Linked DNA regions of Homo sapiens: all the other regions are linked to region 1. Evidence: promoter capture Hi-C in 16 types of primary human blood cells and fetal thymus (Javierre and others, 2016). All regions are on one chromosome and are shown on one strand. The core of a region is centred on a gene start or on the middle of the fragment in contact, and the rest is flanking DNA. Distances in the headings are between cores, read along the strand shown. Region 1 holds the start of ARL5B (ARF like GTPase 5B). Region 2 has its middle 19 kb from the start of OTUD1. Region 3 has its middle 7.5 kb from the start of OTUD1. Region 4 has its middle 35 kb from the start of C10orf67. Region 5 has its middle 17 kb from the start of C10orf67. Region 6 holds the start of C10orf67 (chromosome 10 open reading frame 67). Region 7 overlaps LOC107984215 (a long non-coding RNA gene).

What was found. The method cuts DNA at HindIII sites, captures the fragments that hold promoters and counts their contacts. A CHiCAGO score of 5 or more calls a contact.
Region 2: a fragment that was not itself captured here is called in contact with the fragment with the promoter of ARL5B in region 1 in 1 of 17 cell types (total B cells); the score reaches 15.5 in total B cells.
Region 3: a fragment that was not itself captured here is called in contact with the fragment with the promoter of ARL5B in region 1 in 2 of 17 cell types (monocytes and total CD4 T cells); the score reaches 8.9 in monocytes.
Region 4: a fragment that was not itself captured here is called in contact with the fragment with the promoter of ARL5B in region 1 in 1 of 17 cell types (naive CD8 T cells); the score reaches 6.7 in naive CD8 T cells.
Region 5: a contact is called between a fragment that was not itself captured here and the fragment with the promoter of ARL5B in region 1, in 1 of 17 cell types (total CD4 T cells). The highest score is 8.4, in total CD4 T cells.
Region 6: a contact is called between the fragment with the promoter of C10orf67 here and the fragment with the promoter of ARL5B in region 1, in 1 of 17 cell types (naive CD8 T cells). The highest score is 6.2, in naive CD8 T cells.
Region 7: a fragment that was not itself captured here is called in contact with the fragment with the promoter of ARL5B in region 1 in 2 of 17 cell types (activated CD4 T cells and total CD4 T cells); the score reaches 9.5 in activated CD4 T cells.

The regions. Positions count from the first base shown.
Region 1 is chr10:18,657,983-18,661,153 of GRCh38, forward strand. It overlaps ARL5B (ARF like GTPase 5B), which reads left to right and starts at 1,449. Exons shown (of 6, transcript NM_178815.5): 1 at 1,449-1,701. The coding sequence starts at 1,656. It also overlaps a transcript of NSUN6 not described here. RefSeq lists enhancers at 278-397, 1,098-1,227 and a silencer at 1,538-1,617. The HindIII fragment of the contact is 6,724 bases long and covers 492-3,171 here.
Region 2 is chr10:23,456,742-23,459,912 of GRCh38, forward strand. No RefSeq gene overlaps it. Among named protein-coding and RNA genes, the nearest start is that of OTUD1, 19 kb to the left of the region's middle. The HindIII fragment of the contact is 2,672 bases long and covers 382-3,053 here.
Region 3 is chr10:23,429,969-23,433,139 of GRCh38, forward strand. No RefSeq gene overlaps it. Among named protein-coding and RNA genes, the nearest start is that of OTUD1, 7.5 kb to the right of the region's middle. RefSeq lists an enhancer at 2,189-3,171. The HindIII fragment of the contact is 5,764 bases long and covers 1-3,171 here.
Region 4 is chr10:23,378,473-23,381,643 of GRCh38, forward strand. No RefSeq gene overlaps it. Among named protein-coding and RNA genes, the nearest start is that of C10orf67, 35 kb to the left of the region's middle. The HindIII fragment of the contact is 6,053 bases long and covers 1-3,171 here.
Region 5 is chr10:23,359,952-23,363,122 of GRCh38, forward strand. No RefSeq gene overlaps it. Among named protein-coding and RNA genes, the nearest start is that of C10orf67, 17 kb to the left of the region's middle. The HindIII fragment of the contact is 329 bases long and covers 1,303-1,631 here.
Region 6 is chr10:23,343,287-23,346,457 of GRCh38, forward strand. It overlaps C10orf67 (chromosome 10 open reading frame 67), which reads right to left and starts at 1,511. Exons shown (of 16, transcript NM_001371909.1): 1 at 1,283-1,511. The coding sequence starts at 1,488. C10orf67-AS1 (C10orf67 antisense RNA 1) reads left to right here and starts at 671. Exons shown (of 2, transcript NR_155752.1): 1 at 671-804; 2 at 1,138-1,875. RefSeq lists a silencer at 2,634-2,928. The HindIII fragment of the contact is 9,174 bases long and covers 1-3,171 here.
Region 7 is chr10:23,089,229-23,092,399 of GRCh38, forward strand. The region is part of intron 1 of LOC107984215 (a long non-coding RNA gene); the gene reads right to left. Among named protein-coding and RNA genes, the nearest start is that of MSRB2, 4.8 kb to the right of the region's middle. The HindIII fragment of the contact is 948 bases long and covers 978-1,925 here.

The DNA of each region.
Region 1 (3,171 bases), core at 199-2,698:
AAAAAAAAAAAAAAAGCAGAATGTGGTTTACATCCATGTCTAACAATTGAAGAAGCTGTTACGGAATCTAAAGTTTGTTTTGTGATAATGAAGCTAGGACTAAAAATGTCCTTTTAAGCCATTACTTACACAAACACAAAATTATTCACATTTATGGTCCAACTGATAGTCATGAAAGTTAAGTTTGCATAGGGTCAGTACATTCTTTTTCCTCTACATAGGAGGTTGAAACTTGCCTTTAATGTTGTAACGTTGGAGCATATTATCCTGCATCTAAGTCTTAAAGGGTCTTTAAACCATAGCACTGGGAGGACGTAAGTCATACATTCTCCTTGTACAGGTTAACTCAAGAGTTTGGCATGTTAAAAGGCCACGTTGCCAAGGTTAAAATCCAACCATCTGACTGAAGTCAGAGTCTAAAAAAATTTTAAGCTTGCTCCTCCGTCAACTGGTTTCAAGGACATTCAGTTTCGTTTCATGCCAGGCTGTGAAGCTTTTCTTTTCAATGCTAGAACCTAACCATGGAAAGTGGAATTGAAAACAATTACACAGCGAATTGGCTTATGCGTGGACTTCGATCTGGGATCCACGAACATACCTAATGCTTGGCAAAATGGAGAGGGGTGCTATGTGTTATTATTATGTGTTATTATTAATCACATAACTGAACTCTGTGGCTCCAGGCCTTCCATGGCTCGTCTCCCAATCAATTCTTTTCAGAACTAAGAATCACGACAGGGGCCGGGCGCGGTGGCTGAGCCTGCAATCCCACCACTTTGGGAAGTCGAGGCAGGAAGATCGCTTGAGCCCAGGAAATTGAGTCCCCCTGGGCAACACAGCCCGACCTCGTCTGCAATCGATCAATCAATCAATGAGTACATAAATGCATAAGCCAATGAATGAATACGTGAATGAATAGATTAATAAATGAATGAAGAAGAATCACGGCAGAACTCCTAACCCCTAGCACGCCTGCCTAGGGGAACAGGAATAAGTCAGGAAAGAAACACTCTTCACTTCTGTGAGTTTTCTAAGAGCAGCAAACGGCGGCTGCTCACTTAGAGAACCTATGGTCTTTCCTGGTTTTAGAGGTCAGGGAAGCAGCTGCTAGCAGCAGAGACTCAAATCAAAGGGGAGTCCCACAAACGTTTTGAAGGCTGACATCAGAAGGAGCACGCACCAAGGGAAATTTCCCACCCCCCCGCGATACCGCAAATTCCCAGCCGCTGGCCGTTTGGGACTCTCCTACCGGAAGTGAAACCGAAGAAAACGCCACGTCGAAGGCGTGGGTTGCCGTAAGTGCGCCGTCGTCACGCGCCTAGCTTCCGGCGATGGGTGGTCCTGGGATCCGGAGGGGAGGCGGGGTGGAGGCGGGGCTTGGGGCTGTGGAGAGGCTGTGGTAGGTAGGTGGGTACAGACCGAGGGGACTACGGGTCGGCGTTGGGCTCAGTGGGCTCGAAACAAAGGGCTGTCCGGTGGGGATTCGTCGCGGCGCCTTCTGAGTGGTCGGGTCGAGGCTTCTCGGCCTAGCAGTGCCCTCGCTGCGCGATCTCAGGCGGGTTCTCCTCGGCTCCGCGCAGCCCGCGCCGCGGTGGGGGACCCGGCGCAGCGGCACCTGCTGCCGAGGGACCCCGCGGCCCGCCCCGGTGCTCGTGATGGGGCTGATCTTCGCCAAACTGTGGAGCCTCTTCTGTAACCAAGGTGAGAAGAATGGAGCTGCGCGGCGGCTCGAATCCGAGGCAGAGGGTCCCGCCGCCGATGGGGACACCGGAGACAGGGGACAGAGCGTTCGGAGACGCGGAGGAGGAAGGGACTTAGGCCAGGGGGCGGGCAGAAACTCAGTGTTTTAGACCTGGAGGACGTACAGGAGAGACCTGACGTGTGGGAGAAATAGGGAGGCAGAAGAGAAGGTATTTGGCGTCCCAGAATCCAAACTGAGAATGTTTGGATATTGGCGAAGTAAAGCGGGATACAGCTAATGATGCCAGGAGGCGTATGGAGGGCCTTTCTCGTCTTTATTGAAGCGTGCTTGTGTCTATGTGTATCCCCAGGATAAGTGTCCGCCCAGAAACCTAGAACTTTTTTTTTTTTGAGTAATGTAGGTGCTTTGTTTTCCCGCCCTGCAGTTTGAGCCGTAAGCCAGTGCACTTTCACTCTGATTTCGCCTCCTTTCCTCTAGGACTTGGGAATGAGTTGTCCTATTCAGATGCACGAGTTTTCCAGCATCTTCATTGTAAACTTTTTTTTTTAAAGCATTTAGTTCAGAAACTAAATGCTTTTCGGTTTTGTGTAAGACGTTACGTGTCCGTAATTAGTCTGTAACAGGTAATGAGACACCTGGAAGTGGCAGGTCCAAAGGGCCGAGAAGTTGCAAAACCTGTTCTGAATCAGAATGAGATGTGATGTCTTCTGAAGAGAGAAAACACCCAGACCAAAAAAGGGGCCGACGATAAGTTAAAGTTTGAGGCGTCCTTTGAACAGAATGGTTTCTTAGTAATTGAAACCAGTTTTGAAAATCAACTCGTTTCATTTTACATTTAAGAGCCGGGCATCGTTAATAAGCCAGTTTTATTTCCTTTTATGTTGGTACCAATTTGTTACTGCTAATGTAGGTATCTAATCTTTTTCTGGATTTAAGAAGTTGTGGAGGTAATGGAATGGCTTTAGTTGACTTGTTCTGTAGATTGATAAGAACACTAAAGCAGTCTTTTTCAAGGTTATAAATATAGATACAGGCACACACATGTGTATATATATGTATATGCCTGTATCCAGTAACCACAGATAATATTACTTATCAAATGATTTCAAAGTGAGCAGAGCTTCACACTTTGTGGGTATTATCCATACATTTAAAATATTATTTTTATTTATTTATTTTTTGAGGCAGAGTCTTTCTCTGTCGCCCAGGCTTCAGTGCAGTGGCGCAATCTCAGCTCACTGCAACCTCTGCATCCTGGGTTCAAGCGATTCTTGTTCCTCAGCCTCCCGAGTAACTGGTATTTACAGGCACCCGCCACCACGCCCGGCCTATTTTTGTATCTTTAGTAGAGACAGGGTTTCGCCATGTTGGGCAGGCTGGTCTCGACCTTCTGACTTCAGGTGATCTACCCACCTCGGCCTCCCAAAGTGCTGGAATTACAGGTGTGAGCCACCGCGCCCAGCGGTAAA
Region 2 (3,171 bases), core at 468-2,967, 4.8 Mb after region 1:
TCTCAAAATAATCAGCTCAAAATTATCTTTATGTTAAAGAGGATTTGGGATGGCATGTTTAGCCTCCTACATTACTCTTAGGACAAATAAATACTCGTTTTTCACATTTCACTGCCAAAAGGAAGGATATGATGATATTCTTGGTATTAAGAAAACATTATAATTTTCAGGGCAATGAAAACCCTCATAGATAGAGACCATTAGTTTCACTAGGGTATGGATGTCTGTGTGTGTGTGTGTGTGTGTGTGTGTGTGTGTGTGTGCGCGCGCGCGCGCGCGCGCACAGAGAATGGCCCCATGAGATTTAGCACTGGAGTGGGAAATGGGCATTATATTTTTGAGCCTCCCCAGGTGGTTTTGATGATCAGCTAGGTTTAGGAAAGCTTGAACTAAGGAAGACCTTATGACTCTCAGTGGGTGAGCAAATTCTCTGTGAAATATAGAAAGATTAGGAGAGATAAGATGAATAAGAAGTATTAAGAGAGATAAGATGAATAAGAAGTATGATGAAAATTCATAAAATCATAAATATTATGAATAGTATGAACATAACCATAATAGGTTTTTTCATGCACGTGCATGTGAAGAGACCACCAAACAGGCTTTGTGTGAGCAACATGGCTGTTTATTTCACCTGGGTGCAGGTGGGCTGAGTCCGAAAAGAGAGTCAGCAAAGGGTGGTGGATTATCATTAGTTCTTGTAGGTTTTGGGATAGGCAGTGAAGTTAAGAGCAATGTTTTGCGGGTAGGGGTGGATCTTACAAAGTACATTCTCAAGAGTGGGGAGAATTACAAAGAACCTTCTTAAGAGTGGGGGAGATTACAAAGTACATTGATCAGTTAGGGTGGGGCAGGAACAAATCACAATGGTGGAATGTCATCAGTTAAGGCTATTTTTACTTCTTTTGTGGATCTTCAGTTACTTCAGGCCATCTGGATGTATACGTGCAAGTCACAGGGGATGTGATGGCTTGGCTTGGGCTCAGAGGCCTGACAGGTTTGTTGCCTGATACATACAGCAAGTCAATACATCAAGACACTGGGTTGCAGCAGAGAAACAGGTTTAATCATAGGGTCAGTGAACCAAGAGATGGGGAGAAACCTCAAGTCTGTCTCCCCAAGGAATTTGGGGTTAGAGTTTCTAAGGGTTTTGGAGTGGGCCAAAGTGTGGGGATCATTGATGGGTTGAAGAACACAGGGCGTCATGGAACAGGGAGATGAGGAAGTTGTATTCTCATGCTGATTCCATTCCTCTGTGTGAGTCTTCAAATTGGTTGCCGAAATTCATGGATCTGAAAAACATCTTAAGCAATCCTTAAACAAAAGCCTTATGATTCTAATGTCAGAGATCCTGTGTATAGGAACAATGGGGATACAAATCAATTCTTACAGTCTTATGACCCTAATGTCAGAGATCCTAGCTATAAAAACAACAGGGTTGCAGATGGTCAGGATCCAGTGGTACGTGACTTTTAGCAACAAGGAAGTGAGCCAGAGTGCAGTCTGATGAATGCTTAATTATAACTATATTTCCGTCCAGAACCCTGAGTGCAATTCTTGCCAACCCTGTGTGGTGGTTTCATGAACATGGATGTCTTCATCGGATGAGAAATACCAAGATGAAATAAATTTATTCAATTTGATTCTTGTGCATGTAAATAAGTCCATATTTACACATGTATATATATGCAGAGAAGATAGTGAATTCTGAGCATTGTAGAACCTTCCAGGGGAAGAGCCAATTGCCAGGTCCTAAGAGCTGCCCTTGGCCACCTCTCCAATGCTACTGAAGACAACATTATGGGGAAGGTCAGCTTCACTCTGCTTCTTAAAGATGAAGAGTGGGGAATTATTCAGAATTCTTTAGGGTGCAAATGCCAGAAACTTCATGGAAACTGGCTTTGTAAGAACAAACAAAATAAGGATTGGAAATCTATTGATCCAAGTTGCTGAGTGGGATCCTAGCATAGCTTACAGAGTGGAAGAGAAAACTACAGAAACCAAGACCTCAGGGCTTAGAATCAGGTTGATGTAGTTTGAGTATCTGTCCCCTCCAAATCTCCTGTTGAAATTTGATCCCAAAATGTTGCAGGTGAGGCCTAGTGGTGAAACCGCCTTTGCGAAACTATGACTGAGACAGTGAGCGATCTAACTTAACTGACTCCATCTTGCTTCTAACTTCCAAGCTGTCCTTGTTCATTCCTGGGCGTAGGCTGAACTAACTTTGGGAGAAAGTTAGTTTATAATTTAAACAAAGACGGTAATAGCGCTTTCCCAAAGCAGACTTCCTTCTTGCCTGGGGACTAGATTGCCTTCGTAAGATTAACATTAGACACAAAATTAGAAACTATTGTTTAGGAGTCATGCAGCTGGAGGCTACAAGATTCTGACCCTCCCTAAAGTGCTTCTAAGACCAGCCCTTGAGATATTTTGCAGACCCTGCACTTGATGGATCAGCTGGCCCCACCCAGATCAATAAACTGGCTCATCTGATCTTGTGGCCCCCACCCAGGAACTAACTGAGCACAAGAAAACAGCTCCGACTCCCTATGATTTCATCTCTGACCAGTCAGCACTCCTGGCTCACTGGCTTCCCCCCACCCACCAAGTTATCCTTAAAAACTCTGCTCCCCTAATGCTCTGGGAGACCGATTTGAGTGATAATAAACTCCGGTCTCCTGCACAGCTGGCTCTGCGTGAATTATTCTTTGTCGATTGCAATTCCCTTGTCTTGATGAATCAGCTCTGTCTAGGCAGCGGGCAAGGTGAACCCCTTGGGCGATTACAGTGGGAGGTGTCTGGGTCACAGGGGCAGATCCCTCATAAATGGCTTGGTGTCAATCTCATGCAAGTGAGTTCTCACTCTGTTAGTTCCCATGAGATCTGATTGTTTTTTCTTTTGTCTTTTTAAATTTTTTATTGTTTTGCACACTGAAATATGTACATCTAAGAGATCTGATTGTTGAAAAGAGCCTGGCACCTCCCTCCCCTCTATTGCTTCCTCTCTGCCATGTGACACCCCTGCCACCCCCTCACCTTCTGCCATGAGTGGAAGCTTCCTGGGTCCTTGACAGAAGCAGGTGCTGTTGGTGTGCTTTCTGTACAGCCTGCAGATCCATGAGACAAACCTCTTTTCTTTATACATTACCAGCTTCAGGTATTCCTTTATAG
Region 3 (3,171 bases), core at 281-2,780, 4.8 Mb after region 1:
TAGCTGGGACTACAGGTGTGCCACACCATGCCTGGCTAATTTTTTAATTTTTTTGTAGAGACATGGTCTCGCTCTGTTGACCAGGCTGATCTCAAACTCCTGGTCTCAAGTGATCCTCTGCCTTTGCCTCCTGAAGTGCTGGAATTACAGATGTAAGCCACTGCGCCCAGTCCTGGGTGAGTTTTTTTGTTTGTTTTTGAGACAGAGTCTTGTTCTGTTGCCCAGGCTGGAGTGCAGTGGCAGGAACATGGCTCACTGAAGTCTTGACTTCCTGGGCTCAGGGGATCCTCCCACCTCAGCCTCCTGAGTAGCTGGAACAAGAGGCTCATGCCACCACATCCGGCTAATTTTTAAGGTTTTTTTTGTAGAGACAGGGACTTGCCACATTGCCCAGGCTGGCCTCAAACTCCTGGACTGAAGCAATCCTCCCATCTCTGCCTCCCAAAGTGCTGTCATTATAGGCATAAACCACCACACCAAGACCCTGGGAGGACTATTTTTAAAAAATTGTTTCTCTCTCTCTTCTGCTTATTTATAGCTTTCGACTTTTTTGTGATGACCATGTATTATTTTCATAATAATAAATCCCATAAAAACTATTTACATTTAAAACAATGTGTTGGCTTCATAGTAGTTACATTTATAATTTCAACCATCAAGAAGATTCTTAAGGAAAAAAATACGTTCCTGTGAAAGGGAAACAATTATTTTTTCTCTGCAATTTCTACTCAACACAGAACACTTCTGTGACCAGGTGTAGGGGTTTTTCTCTACACACCAAGCAGTTCTGTGGTGGACACCAACTAGGTGTCCTATAATTCAGTTTAATTCTGACACTATCTACCTGGAGTTAGAGTCAGATCCCAGAGGTTGAGGGCTCTGTCCCACAAGACTGACCTCACTTCAGACATCAATTGCAAGTAGTAGGTTGTTACCTATACCTCTGACCGACTGGTTGCAATCTGGGGGTCCCATGATCCCCTACTTTGGTTTGATTAATTTGCTAGGATGGTTCACAGGACTCAGAGAAATAATTGCATTTATTAGTGTATTATTATTAATGAAGAGTATTACAAAGAATAGAGATGAAAAGATACAGAGGCTGAAGTATGGAGGAGAGAGAATAGAGCTTTCATTGTCCAAGAGTTTTTATGAAGTTTAATCTCCAGTGTCCCCCACAACCCCTTTCCTGGAAGTTGGTGGGTGGGGCTGAAACTTTCGACCCTCTAATCCTCTAATCACTTGCTCTTTCTGTTGATCAGCCCCATCCTGGGGCTAATCAGGGGTCCCACCCTAAGTCACCTCATTAGCAGAAACTCTGCCTGTAATCCCAGCATTTTGAGAGACTGAGGTATGAGGATCGGTCAAGCTCTGGAGTTCAAAACCAGCCTGGGCAACATAGAGAGACCTCCTCTCCACTAAAAATAAAAAAAATTAGCCAGGCATGGTGGCACACACCTGTAGTCTCAGCTACTCTGGAGGCTGAAGTGGGAGGATCAGTTGACCCTAGGAGGTTGAGGCTACAGTGATACATGATTGCACCACTGCACTACAGCCTGAGTGACAGAGCAAGACCCTGTCTCGAAATAAATAAATAATAAATTAAATACAAAAACAAAAAAAGAATAAGGTGGAGCTACATATTGTGACATGAAACGTGTCCAGTATATACTAATTAAGTAAAGAAAAAAGTATAGTGCAGAGAAAATATGTACCATATAATCCTGTAATGCCAAATTTTTGCTCACATGTGTATGATATATATAATCTATATATGCGTATTAAAAAGTCTGAAAATATATACAATAAATGTAAACAGTAGTTACCACTGGAGTGGGAGATGAGGGAGATGGGATGGGATGTAAAGGAATTTTACTTCTATTTTTACACATGTGCATTGCTTTAATTTTTTAACACACTTTTTTAAATTAAATAAAAAGCAATATTAAAGTAACTTAATATCTATCCTCTTTTCTCTTCTTTTTCTTTCCTTTTCTTTTTGGCCACCCAGGCTGGAGTGCAGTGGCATGATCATAGTTCACTGCAGCCTCAACCTCCTGGGCTCAAGCAATCCTCCAGCCTCAGCCTCCTGAGTAGCTGGGACTACAGGCACTTATCACCATGTCCGGCTAATTTTTATACTGTTTGTATAGATGGGATTTTGCCATGTTGCCCAGGCTGGTCTTGAATTCCTGGTCTCAAGCAATCCTCCCCTCTCATCCTCCCCAAATGCTGGAATTACAGGCATGAGCCACTGTGCCTGGTCCTCTTTTCTCATTTCCTTAAGTCTTGGTAAAATAGTTTTATAATATCTGGGCATTTTTACAATTGAGCTCTTAGTCATGAAGGGTGTGTTTCTCAGTCTGGCCTTCTACCCATATAGAAGGAGGGTGGGGTGTGGCTGTTGCCTGCTCCCCACAGAAACACCCTTATGGTCTCTAGGAGGGGTAAGTCATATTGTTATCACGTTCACTTATTTACAGACATTTAGCTACTAGGTAAACATTACAAAGATTGTGGATTTTTAAAATGTTGCCACACAAACAGCCAACTGAGTTATGTTAGAATCATCCTTGGTAACAGATTTCTGCATTTACTGCAGTTATTCAACGTTTGGGTGTGTGCGGGTGTCTTGTTTTTCCTACTTTATGTTAAGCTATTTACAAACAAGGGACATATGATTATACTTCTATTTAAACCTGTGCAGGCCTAGTTACTGTTAGCAGACCTGTCCATAGTATCGGTTAAGGCAACTAGAAGCAGGCAACAGAGCACAGAACAAGATGGTTCTAGTCTACTGTTCTCCTTTTCTAATAGAAATTAACTGAATTCCGGCAACACTTGAGGTTTTGGGGCTCCTCTCTTTCACCATATGCTGGAATGAGTCAAGGCTGTGTATGGGAAATGATCACTCTATTTAAATTATGTCATTTAAACCTCCCTGTTGAGTAACAGACTTGACTTCTCTCAACAGTCAATCGGATCCACAAGATGAAGAATGCCATTGTGTGAGTACAGATTTGAACCCTGTTGCTAATCACTGGATGACCCTTTGGGCTATTTATCAAAAGGATCTGCGCCTTTTCTAAGCCTAAACTCGAGAGTCAATGATTATCCTTTTGTCACAGTCTTTTCTCCATACTTTGTCCTATTTTTTTCTCCTACAAAAAC
Region 4 (3,171 bases), core at 235-2,734, 4.7 Mb after region 1:
AGCTGCCGTGCAAAAGTCAAGTAAATGGAATAGCACAGAGGATAGCTAGTTTGTCTCTGCACCTGGCCTAGGATAGTGCGCTCCCACATTCACAGCCCTTGGTTAGGGGGGAAAAAAGTGAGCCTGGAGAAGTTACAGGAAGGGATCATGACAAAGCATTCAAGTTATCAGAAGGGCTTTCCATTTAAAAACAGACTAACATGATTCAGACCTGTCGATTTGGAAAAACAAAAGTCACTGAGTGAATGTAATTAAATTCATTAAGACCCTTGAGTGAAAGGTACAAAACCAGCTCACCCTTGGACTTGTAACACTACAGGTGTGTCCCATGTTACTAATGAGAAGAAATGGGTGTGGGAACCATCACATCTCTTTTTCCATTTTGCACCCTGGGTGGCATCATGGAAGCATGACTTGTCAGGCGCACATGGCTCCAGGCTTACTAGGGCACCATGCTTGGTTTAATGCTCCATGGCCTTCATAATTATACCTTTCACCTTGTATTTTCTAAGTGAACTCTGCTGGGCCCATGGAACATGTGTGTGAAGCAGAGGAGATACACAAAATATGCATGTCTACCATGGGCTCCAGTTCACCCTAGCTCACATGTTGTGTTTGTGCTGCCCATGAGCACAGAATTTTGACAAATCCACCATGGACGGGAGTTGAGCAAGACTCAACGCATGTTATATCTGGGACTGAGTAAGCAGAGGTGCTGACAGCCTTGGTGGACCACACTTTCTTAGGACCAGAACTTGCTTCCAATGCAGTTCAGACAATGGCCATGGCATTGAAAGGGTTCAGAGCATGCTACCCCGAAATATGCCACTTTCACATACTGATTATTTTGAGTTACAGGCACTTGAAAAGCAGCAGATGCAAGAAAGGCATGCTGACCTTCTCTTTTTCTTCCTGAAAGCAGTAACTAAAACTCCTATGTAAAAGATGTCTTCCCTATACCAGGAGGAAGATATCACCAGAATCAGGGAGTTGAGGCCCAGAGAAATATGTTCAAATACACCTTGTTAAACTATGCCTTGTTTTCCTAGCCACTTTTCAACAATTAACTGCCCTAGCCCAGACCCCTTTGTCTTGCCACATTTCACAAATTACTCCTCTAGGTCCAACCCAGTATATAGCTTTTGTCCCTAACTTCTTCTTTGGGTCTTCATTTTTCTTGTGGGAGCTCCTGTGAAAATGTTACCACATTAAATCTGTATACTTTTCTCCTGTTAGTTGGTCTTATGTCAGTTTAATTCTTAGGACTAGCTGGGTAATAGGAAAAAGGAGAAATTGTAGCTCCCCTACAGCATTCTAAGAAATATGGATAACCAATGAATTCCATCATATCCTTTCTTGTATTATTTCCGTATATTAGCTGACACCCTCAACAATGAGGACATTAAAGGAAAGGGGAAGATGGGGCAACTCGTAGTTCCTTTTCCTTTTAGTCTTTCCTTACTAATCAGTAAACTGAAGAGAGTATTGACAGAATGTGCACATATTAAGAAGTGAAACAAAAACGTTTGAGTTAGTTTTATGCAGTTCTGGTAAGAACAAAATATATCTGCATGTAGCAGTTAAAAAAGATGAATTATATAATTTCAATGATTCTACATATAAGTTAATGTTCTCATATTTTCATTGAAAACAGGCATTACATTATGGTATGTGAATTTATGTCAATTTTAACAAAAAGAAAAATAGGTAGTACAGATGACCAAGAAACAAGGGTTGAGGGAAGGGCTTTTCTGTTACTCATTTATCAAAACAAAATTTATTGTTATTATTTTTTATTTTCATTTTTTATAAAAGGGTGGCTGCTCCATAGGCAGAGCAGAACTACCCCATAGGCAGAGTAGCCTTTTTTAATTTATTTATGTATTTATGTATTCATCTGAGACGGAGTTTCACTCTTGTTGTCCAGGCTGGAGTACAATGGCGTGATCTTGGCTCACCGCAACCTCTGCCTCCTGGGTTCAAGAGCTTCTCCTGCCTCAGCCTCCCGAGTAGCTGGGACTACAGGTGTGCGCGCCACCATGCCTGGCTAATTTTTTGTATTTTTAGTAGAGATGGGGTTTCACTGTGTTAGCCAGGACGGTCTGGATCTCCTGAGCTCGTGATCCACCTGCCTCGGCCTCCCAAAGTGCTGGGATTACAGGCGTGAGCCACCGCGCCTGGCTGCTATTTTTATTTTTTTAGATCTAATTATAAGAAATTAATGATTGCTCACTGTAGAACTTTTAGAAAACATAGGGCAGTATTAAATGAGAACTTATAAAAGTAGTAACTTACTTGGTAATTACGGACTTTAGGATTTGTTTTAGAGCTAAAAACAAAGAAGAAGAAACGATAACATGTTATAAAATGGACAAAAAGGTATCTTTAATGCCTTACGGCTCCATAAAATCAATTCAAGCGTCCCCCCTGGAAGAAAGAAGAAAGATTGACTTTGCACAAGACAAATGGTAAAATGTATACTAATAATTTTAATTAAAAAAATTTTTTTTAGGCCAGGCGCAGTGGCTCACGCCTGTAATCCCAGCACTTCCCGAGGCCGAGGCAGAAGGATCGCTTGAGAACAGGAGTTCGAGATCATCCTGGGTGATACAGCAAGACCCCGTTTCTTGCTGAAAATCGAATTTCAATTTTTCTTTACCTGGAATAGCATCAAATAGCAAATAAAACACACCAGAACAAACTGAAAGACCATGGAAGAAAGGAAAGAGCTTTATATTTTAGTTCCTTAAAAGTACTTTTGTCCTGCTTTTTGAACAAGGGGCTCTGCCTTTCATTTTGCATTGGATGTAACAAATTATGTAGTTGGTTCTTCTCTCATCTTGGCTTCTTTCACAATACCTTCATTTTTGTCTTCTGGGACCATGTTTTGCTCCTTCTCAAGTCCACTAGGCAGGCTGAGGCCCCTCACACTCGCCACATGTATCAGGCAGAGATTAACTTTCTCAAGCCTTTTTCCAGATTCCCAGAAGAAAGCATTGGATTGGCCCAGTTGCACCATGTGACCTGGCCAGGGGAGAAGTCATGTGATACAAACATGGCTTGAGCCAAGCCCTGTGGATAGAAAGGTGGGTGGGTATCAGAGAAAGGGAGCTGTGCAAGTACCCCAGACTTGTCTGGGTTGGCCCTTTCAAGTAGTCCAAAATTGGAGGT
Region 5 (3,171 bases), core at 217-2,716, 4.7 Mb after region 1:
AGTGCCCGCAGGGAGAGTAAATTAAATGCTCTGAAGCATGGCAGACAGAGGCTGAGCTGGTGCAAGGGTGGGCCCTCAGCATACCCACCATTGAGGGAAAACCTTACACAGCAGTACTAGAATCGGTGCTTCCAATAGGGACTCTTTTTTGGAAATAACTTTGAAAATCCTCTTTGCTCCTGCTACAACCCAGAGCTCAGGTCTGGCCCTGGCACGTCTCAGCTCTATGAGCTATACAAGTTGACTACCTGCCCTTAGAATGCAGTATATGCAAAAAACACTTTGTAAACTCCAAAGTGCTATGTAGGTGTGAGTTACTGTTATCATCGATGCAAATGTGCTGGCCTTAAGTCCCACCCATTCCCTGTGGGGGGTGATCCCCAGGGTCAAGTGTCTGGAGGTCCTGGTAAAATTAGAATTCAGTCTAAGTTTTTCTTCCTATATTTTCTGCTTAATAACTTGGTTCTACTCTAGGACTCAGCACCTCTCTGAGCCCCCTATTACTGGGGATCTTCCAAACATGAACAACTGTCCCCATGCTAACCACCACCATTCAGGCTCAGCCATTTGCTCTCCTCTCTTGCCTTTTCTTTCTTCCAATCATTCTTTTTAAAAATTATTTTTATGATTTTTTATTTTTGTGGAGATGGGGTCTTGCTTTGTTGCCCCACTGTTGAACTCCTGGGTTCAAGTGATCCTCCTGCCTCAGCCTCCCAAGGTGCTGGAATTACGGTCGCGGATCCACCACACCTGGCCTCTTCCAGTGATTCTTACTTCAACATGCTACACATCACTTCCAGACTGGCCCACCCTTTTTCCCATGAGTCTTTCTAATGTATAGCCTTTCATCCGGTACACAGGATGAAGCCCAATCCCCTTGAGCTAGTGTCTAAAGTCCTCCTAGGACAATCCCTTACTAACTCCTTGTGGAGAAGAGTTTAATGCACCAGTTCTGAGACTGCTACCCTTAGAAAGGCTTGCTTGCAAGGTTGGCCCTTGGCTGGCACCAGGAAACCTGGATTTGGGAAGGGCTCCTGCCGTTCCCTATCTGAGAAGTGGTGCTCAATATGCTTAAACTGTGCAATCAGTGTGGTTCCTGCTGAACACCTGCTTTCCCTCCTGGAGTCTGGAATTTCTGTACTGCTAGAAAGTGGGTCCCTAGGTGACAAGCTCTCAATAAAAATCTTGAACATTGAGTCACTAATGAGACTGGTACTGGTAGACAACACTTCATAGGTGTTGTCATAATTTGCTGCTGTAGGAATTAACTACATCCTGGTAACTTCCAAGAGGACTCTTGGAAGCTTGTGTCTGGTTTCCTCCTGACTTTGCCCCATGCATTTTGCTGATTTTGTTTTGCATGCTTTTGCTGGAATGGATCACAGCTGTGAGTATGACTGTTTTCTGAGTCTTGTGAATCCTTCTAGAAAGTCATCAATTCTAGAGATGGTCTTGGGGGCCCCTGACACATCTCTTGGTTTTTTCTTTTTGTGTTCCTCTCCACAGACTCTGCCCTCCTACTAATCTGGTTCATTCCAAAACTCCTTGCGCATGCCTGGCCCTGTAGCTCACACAACCTCCCTGCCTAAAGTGACCCAGCTCTCTCAGACCCAAAGGCTCCCTTCTTTCAAAGCTTTTATCGAGTCCTACCTCCTCCACTGCTATGGTTTGAAAGTTTGTCCCCTCCAAAAGTCATGTTAAAACGTAAATCCCATTATTGAGAGGTGGGGCCTTTTAGAGATGATTGGGTCATAAAGGCTCTGGTCATAAAAATGGATTAATAGATTAGAGGGTTCATGAATTAATAGGTTATCAGAGGAGAGGCACTAGTGGCTTTATAAGAAGAAGAAGGGGGAATTGAGCAAGCACGCTCAGCCTCCTCATCATTTGATGTCCTGCATCTCCCTGGGGCTCTGCAGGAAGTCCCCCTGCCACAAGCATGAAGGTCCTCACCAGATGCAGTCCCTCAACCTTGAACTTCCCAGTCTTCACAACTGTAAGAAATAAATTAATAAATTCCTTTTCTTTATAAATTACCCAGTTTCAAGTATTCCGTTATAAGCAACAGACAAGGGACTAAGACATCCACATCTTTCAGAATGGGCCAGCCTTGGGGGAGGCTTCCTCCTCTGAACATCTTTTTATACTCTGTTCCATTCAGTTGGCATTTTATGTGCACTGTTCATCTGCCTTCCTAGTTCAACTGTTAAGTCCTCCAGAGAGGAGAACAATATTTTTCTTCTTTAATTTCCCTGTGTAGTGTCCCCTGTTCATAGTAATTGCCCTGGGGACATATAAAGGCCCTAAATGGGTTTCAGCTCTGTCTGACCAGTTCTGTTTTCACTAATTCAAGTATCTCACTCTCTGACCATGCTTTCTCAACCTCTAGTTTGTGGTTCATCTTCTCCTGCCCACTCCAGGGTCCCTGCCTTTTGATCCGCCAGATCCTCCAGTAAGGAGCAGGATAACTCCTCTGCTCCCTCCCAGGCCCTCTACCATATCCTTTCTTCACTTCCTCCATCATCAGCTTACATCATTTCAATATTAGCTGCCAATTTGGTAGCTCACTTGACTCTCCTCATGGTGTATGCAGCTGGCTAAACTATAACTTGCTTTCTCTGTTTACACCTGGGCATCTTGGTACAGCAAGGGAAGTCAAACCACAAGACCTATTGATTTTACCATAAATTGTGATCTCCAACCTCAGATGGCCCTAGTACCAGGCAAGGTCCCATCAGGAAACAGATGACACACTTAGAAAGGGTAACTGAGGAAGGCTTAAGAAAGGGAAGGCTGGGCATTGTGACTCATGCCTGTAATCCCAGGACTTTGAGAGGCTGAAGTGGGAAGGATCATTTGAGGCCAGGAGTTTGAGAACAGCCTGGGCAACATAGTGAGACCCAGTCTCTATTAAAAAAAAAAAAGAAAAAAGAAAGAAGAAAAGGAAGATTTACAAAGGTGTGGGTGGGGATAAGGAGACCCAGCAAGCTTCCACCTTTCATCCTGCAGGGGGAAGGGGGGACATTACCAGAACTTAGCAGCCTAGCAGGTAGCTGGGGCTACGGTCTTCAGTTCAGTAAAGGAATGCAGCAACTGACAAACAGGAAACTATTACCCCAACCTGTCTCTCTGCTCAGCCCAACTATTCTGCAGGCACCTCCGGATGACCAA
Region 6 (3,171 bases), core at 261-2,760, 4.7 Mb after region 1:
CCCTTCTAAAAGCAGGGTGGGAGCGGGTGTGGGGGACGTGGGGGAAAACTCCCTTGCCCGTTGCACCATGTGGAGACACAGCCAGGAGGTACTGTCTGTGCAGAAGGGACCCTCATCAGACCTGGAATCTGCCAGTGGGCTTCCCAGCCTCCAGAACTGGGAGAAACAAATTCCTGTTGCTTATAAGCCACCCAGCCTATGTTGTTTTGTTACAGCAGCCCGAGGGGACTAAGACGGGTACTGTGTCCTAGATTAGCTCATTTAATATTCACTATGATCTATGAAGCAGGCACTACTCTTCATCATTCATGAACGATTATTTCCCGCTGAGAAAACTGAGGCACAGAGCAGTCAGTCGCCTAACTCACGGCCCCTGTGAGAGGGTCGCCAAGATTCTGGAATCCGGGCAGTCTGGCTCCAGAGTCCGTGCTCTTAGTGTCCAGCTATACACTTGAAGAAGTGAAAACTGCAGCTCTTTTCGGACAGTGATCCCCTCGAAAAACAAACAAAAAACTGAAGCCCAGCGGCTGGAGCAAGGGGCCTGGAAAGGCGTTGAGCGAGGGCCGGGGCGCGAGGGCTCCGGGGCGGGCCGGCGGGGACTGCCTCTCCCGCTGGTCACCTGGGGTTGAACTGGAATTGTTCAATAGAGGCCTCGAGGCCCTCCATGATCTTCCGGCCCTCCTCTGTCTCAGGCGAGTCGCCCCAGTTCGCCATTGCAGCCCCGGACGTGCGCCTCCCGCGGAGCCGCTCGCTCTCCTGAGTCGGAGTCGGGAACCCGGCGTCCGTTGCCATGGCGACTCCCAGGTAACCGGCGAAGCGCGGGAATCCGTGGGCGGGGGCCGGGGAGGGCCGCGAGTGGAGGGGGGTGGGGAACGGGGTGGGGAGGGGAAGGGGGAAGGAGATGGGGAGGAGGGGGATAGGGAGAAGGTTGGGGATGGGGGGGAAGGGGAGAGGGAAAGGAAGTAGAGGAGGTGTGGAGGGAAGGAAGAGGGGGAAGGAGTGGGGGAAGGGGGAAGAGATGGAAAGGAGGATGGGGAGGGAGCACGCGCGGGAGGAGGGGAGTGGAGAGGGGGAGGAGGAGGCGGGGCGGGCTCCCAAGCCACCCCGCTGCGCTTTCACTGTCCCGCCTGCCTCAAGGCTTCCCCACAAGACTCCCACAGCCTGGAGGCTGCTGCGATACCCCAGAGGAAAGCTGCACCCCCGTAAATAACCCTTCAGCCTCCCGCCGTGCCCCTGGACCCTGCTCGCTTCCTCCTCTACCCAGGCGCGGAGCTCAGCCTACCTCGTGGACCCGCGCATTTGCGGGGGCTTGAATTCCCGAGCTTCTCGCTTCCTACGCGCGCAGCAGACCCGCAGCTCGGTGGCCTTGGCTTTCATGGCCTCCCAGCGTGTGCCAAAGGTCCCCCTCAAGGAGGAGGAAAAGCAGTGAACCCATCTAATAACTATGCTCATGACATAATGAGCCCTGCGATCCCGGACCAAGGCCATCATAAGAGGAGAGCAGGCTGCCTAATAAGCTGTCTCCACCTGCCACAAACGTAGGCGTTCCTGGACAAAATATTTCCTTGCAGAGATTAAACAGATTTCTATTTAATGAGGTCAGAATGTGAGGCGTTAAGTCTTAAACTATACCATCTAGTGTGGAATTCAATTTTACCAGGTTTCTACAATAATAAGAGTTAATAGTGAAACTGTTGTCATCCTTAGTTTTAAATTATGTATCACTCATTGTCAACTAATAGGAGACACCTATTCTAATATCAGTATGTCATTGTTTTTCTGTAAACGACTGGCTAAATTTATTTTTAAAATGTCATTGTCTGGTTTAGAACTGTCTATACTACATCTGCATTTCAATATATTATCTACAGAAAAATAAGTTTTTTCTCCTCTCTCTTATTATTATTATTATTATTTTTTGGAGCCGGAGTCTCGCTCTGTCGCCCAGGCTGGGGTGCAGTGGCGCGATCTGGGCTCACTGCAACCTCCGCCTCCCGGGTTCAAGCAATTCTCCTGCTTCAGCCTCCCGAGCAGCTGGGACTACAGGCACACAGCACCAAGCCAGGCTAATTTTTTGTATTTTTAGTAGAGACGGGGTTTCACCGCGTTGTGCAGGCTAGTCTAACTCCTGAGCTCAGGCAATCTGCCCCCCTCGGCCTCCCAAAGTGCTAGATAACAGGCGTGAGCCACAGAGCCCGGCCTCTTCTCTGTCTTGTAACAGTAAGTGAAAATAACTTAGCTGGATTTAGAAGCTCAAAACAGGAAAAGAAAAGCACTGTAGCATTATCACTACTATTATGTTTAAAGACAAAGATTAAAAGCCCCAAATGCCAATAAAACATCATAACCAATGCCAAAATCATCTTCTGTGAAGGCTTATTTTTTGGGGGGGAGATGAAGAGAGAAGAGAAAAAGAGTTACTTTTACTCTTTGGAGGTTTTTAATTACAAACTCTAACTTCAGACTTTATTTGGGGAATTTTTATTATATAATCAAAAGGTATTTTAAAAGAAAGAAATTTATATATCTACAATAACTTTTCTTTTTCCTAAGTGATATTTTACCACAATGTATATACATGTTTTAAAATAAAGATTAAAATTTTAAGTTAAAATTTCAAAACCTATCTGTTTAGAGCTGGGCCAAGACAGTGTAAAGAATGTGACAAGCTGTTGGCTATTTTCCTAGTGCAATTATAAATGAATCGTTTGAAACTGAGGAGAGAGATCGCACAGAAGATTTCATGAGTCATTGGTCAGCTCTGTACAGCATTTGTTGACTGATATAGTCTGCATAGTTACGCCATCCCACAAAAACATGCATTGAACAGAACATCTTTGTTTGAAACCTTGCTATAGCATATCAAGGAGTTTCAGATTTCAGTGTCTAAGAGACCACGCTATGATGATGATTGTTTTTGAAACCGTTAACTACATAATACTTCTCTTCTTGTCAGTTACCTGTATTTTATCTCACAGGTGTTCCGGCTTATAAAATTGTTTATTTCAGATCAGATTCTCACCTGTAGTAACTGGCGTTGATGTGGTCAAAACATTTGTCATATTAAATCCAGGCCTCTTTTATCACATGCTAAATTCATTGATGGCTTTAGTGGAAAGCTCATGAACTCTGCAGTAAATATTAAATATATACAGGCTTTGAAACTTACTC
Region 7 (3,171 bases), core at 202-2,701, 4.4 Mb after region 1:
ATTGGCCATATAGATAATATTAATTTCCCTAATATATATAATGTTAAATGTTTACTGTTATGTGTATTACAATACTCTCGTATTTTTATCATTTTAATTTTTCTAATTTGAGAGTAATCATTTTTTGTTCTTCATCTTGTGGTATGTATGTATGTACTTAAATTTCATTCACTTGAACCTGTCAACCTTATCATTTGTTCAGTGCTAACTCCTTTTATTGCTTTTATTGTCCAAAAATTATTTTTATTTCAAAATGGATGTATGCAGTATTGTTTTATTTCGTGTGTGTGTGTGTGTGTGTGTTTGTGTATGTGTGGTAGGGAAGTTTAAACTTTCCCTCTGAAGTGAGACTGCTGAAATAAACTGACAATAGAGTAGCAGAAGAAAAAGCATACAAATGTATTAAAGTGCACATGGTCACAAGACCCCCACAAATATGAGACTCAAAGAAAGGCCAAATTGTTGAAACTTATATATCTTCTTCATAGGGAAGAGGGCGATGGCGGAAACTTAGGCAATTTTGAGGGATTGTAAATAATTTTCAGGAAAATTGAATAGGCCCAAAGAGCAGACAGTAGTTTTTGAATTATTCTTTTCGGAAGAAGAATGGGACCCACAGTTATGGGAAGGTGAGGGGCAGAACTGTACTGTGAACAAAGGTTGTCCTATTATGCATTTAATTTTTATTTAAATAGTAAATATTTAAATAATCTTAAATAAATCTTAAATAATAAAGTAATCTCTCAGAGGTGCCATCAGAAGAACAGATAAAAAGTGTTTCAGGGCATAGTGATGACTTTTAGTCTTTCCTCTTCTCCAGTAGTTAATCTTTCCTGGTTATCTGATAAGATTCCTAGTAAAGAGATCTTAAGACAACTGCACTTCTTTTGGAAGACTCAGTGGGAGAAAGCCCTTCTCTTCACTTGTGGGGAAGAAATAAAAAGTTAGAAAGTCGTTGTTTCTGAGGCAGCTTCTAAAGCTTTCCAATTTCATTTAATTCAAAAATGCTCAGCATACCAGAGCACCATACTTGGGGGGTATTGTACTCTGAGCTCTGACATGATACACATATCCACATACTACTTTTAACTCAAAAAATAATTCTTTTGAAGTGAATTATTCATCTAAGCCTTAGACGCCAAGGTTACTTCCCCTGTATTGATAGTCACTTTCCCACAAAAAATATACTGAATAATTTTATATCCCCTTGTTTCTAATAGGTTAAATATGTATTAATTTCTGGAACCTCTTATCTCTCTGGACTATTTTTTGGTTATTATTTCAATCAGAACACTGTTTTCATATCTACTCTTCCTTGATAAGCACTTTTAACATGTGAGAGGCTACTTCTCCAATATTATCTTTAACATAAAAGTCTATTTTTATCCACATTTATTTCAGTTGTTATTTTTTCAATTCCTGTAAAGTAATCCATTGGGATTATAAGTGACATAGCTTAAATCTATAAGTTGAATGTATTTTAACCTTCGTAATTTCAGCTCTTTGGTCAGCAAGTGTATCTTTCCATTTTTCACCACCCGTCATATAATTACAGACTGAAGAGAGTTGAGATATAATTTGAGTTCTAGTTCTAGGCCACCCTCCCCTGTATTCGTGTCATTTTCCAGATAATCAAACCAAGGCCCAGAGACTGGTTTGTCCAAAACATCTGTATCTGCTTAGGAGAACACCTAGAAATTGAACCCAGAGCTTATCCCATGCTATTTTTTTCTATCGAACCATTTATTTAAGTCTTCATTCACTGCCTTTAGAGCTTTAAAACTATATTTTATATATATTAGATGTTCCAGTTGGTTAGTTTCTAGGAATTCTCTAGATTGAGGTAAAACAAAAATGAGTATCGACATTGAACTTTGGGCAGATGGAAGCAGATAAAGTATTTTCAGTGCAGATTAATTGTGTAAAGCTTATTCCAGTCCCTCATTCTTTCCCAAATGGTTTTTGGTAGGGAAAAGCAAATTGGCTTTTGCACTTATCTCCCATTTTTTGGTCATTCTATCCTATCTTTTAGGGATTTTATTATCAAATTTATAGTTTGCAGAGAAGTGTGTTGGATATACAAAGAGTCAAAGTTATAGAATTTTGCCTTTCCTGAAGATTCTCACAATCAAATTCAGGACATCAGATATACACTGTGTCAACTTCATGAAACAGAAAATCCCAGTAACAGTGATTTAAACAAAATATAGATTTATTGGTCTCTCATGTAATTGGAAATCTGAAGGCAGGCAATCCAAGACTAGCATATTGACTCCACACTGTCTTCAGAATCCTGGGCTCCTTCATGTCTTCTACTTCTTTAAAATCAAGATGTGGGTCTCATCTTCATGTATACCAGAAGATTGCCAGTGCTCCAGCCATCATGACTAATTTCCAAGCAGAAACAAAAGACAGAGCAAAAGTCCAGTGCTGAGCCAGCTCCTCTTTAACTAGTTTTCCTGGTAGCTCCCAGTGATGTCTGCTCCTATCATTGCCCATAACAGCATCATATGATTGCCACCAACTACAAGGGAGCTGACAGATGTAACATTTTAGCTAGGCATATTGCTACTCTTAATAAAATCAAAGATCTGTTTGTAAGTAGAGAGAGTGGATATCGGCCAGGCAAATGATAGTCTCTACCACTCAGTGTACAAAGTAAAAGGGAAAACATAAAGTAGAGTTTTGTTCAGGCTAAGACCATGTGTCCAAGAATGTGAGGTTAATGCATGGCCTTGATGGTTAAGTTGGATTCAGATAAATGGTGGTGAGAAGAGGGGACATTTTAAGACCAGTAAGGGCTTGATCACAGATGAGGTAAAGGTCCTCCTAGCAGGTGTAAAGGAGAATGGTGGTAGGGAGGGAGGGACTTCCTCTGTGCTTAGAATGTCTTTCTGGGAGTGTGAGGATATGTAGAAATGCAAGGATAGATTGGTTATCAGCTCTGTTTACCAATTACCGTTGTCCTCATTAAATCTTCAATAACAACTAACGTTTATTAAAACCAAGTATGTACCAAAGGGTTTGCTAGGTGTTTTAACGTATGTTGTATCTAATCCTTACAATAACCCCATTTTGGGGATAAGAAAACTGATCTGTCACAGGTTGAATACTTGATCAAGCTCATGCGTCTTTTAAATTTAAGATATTCTGACTTGAATGTGTTTTACA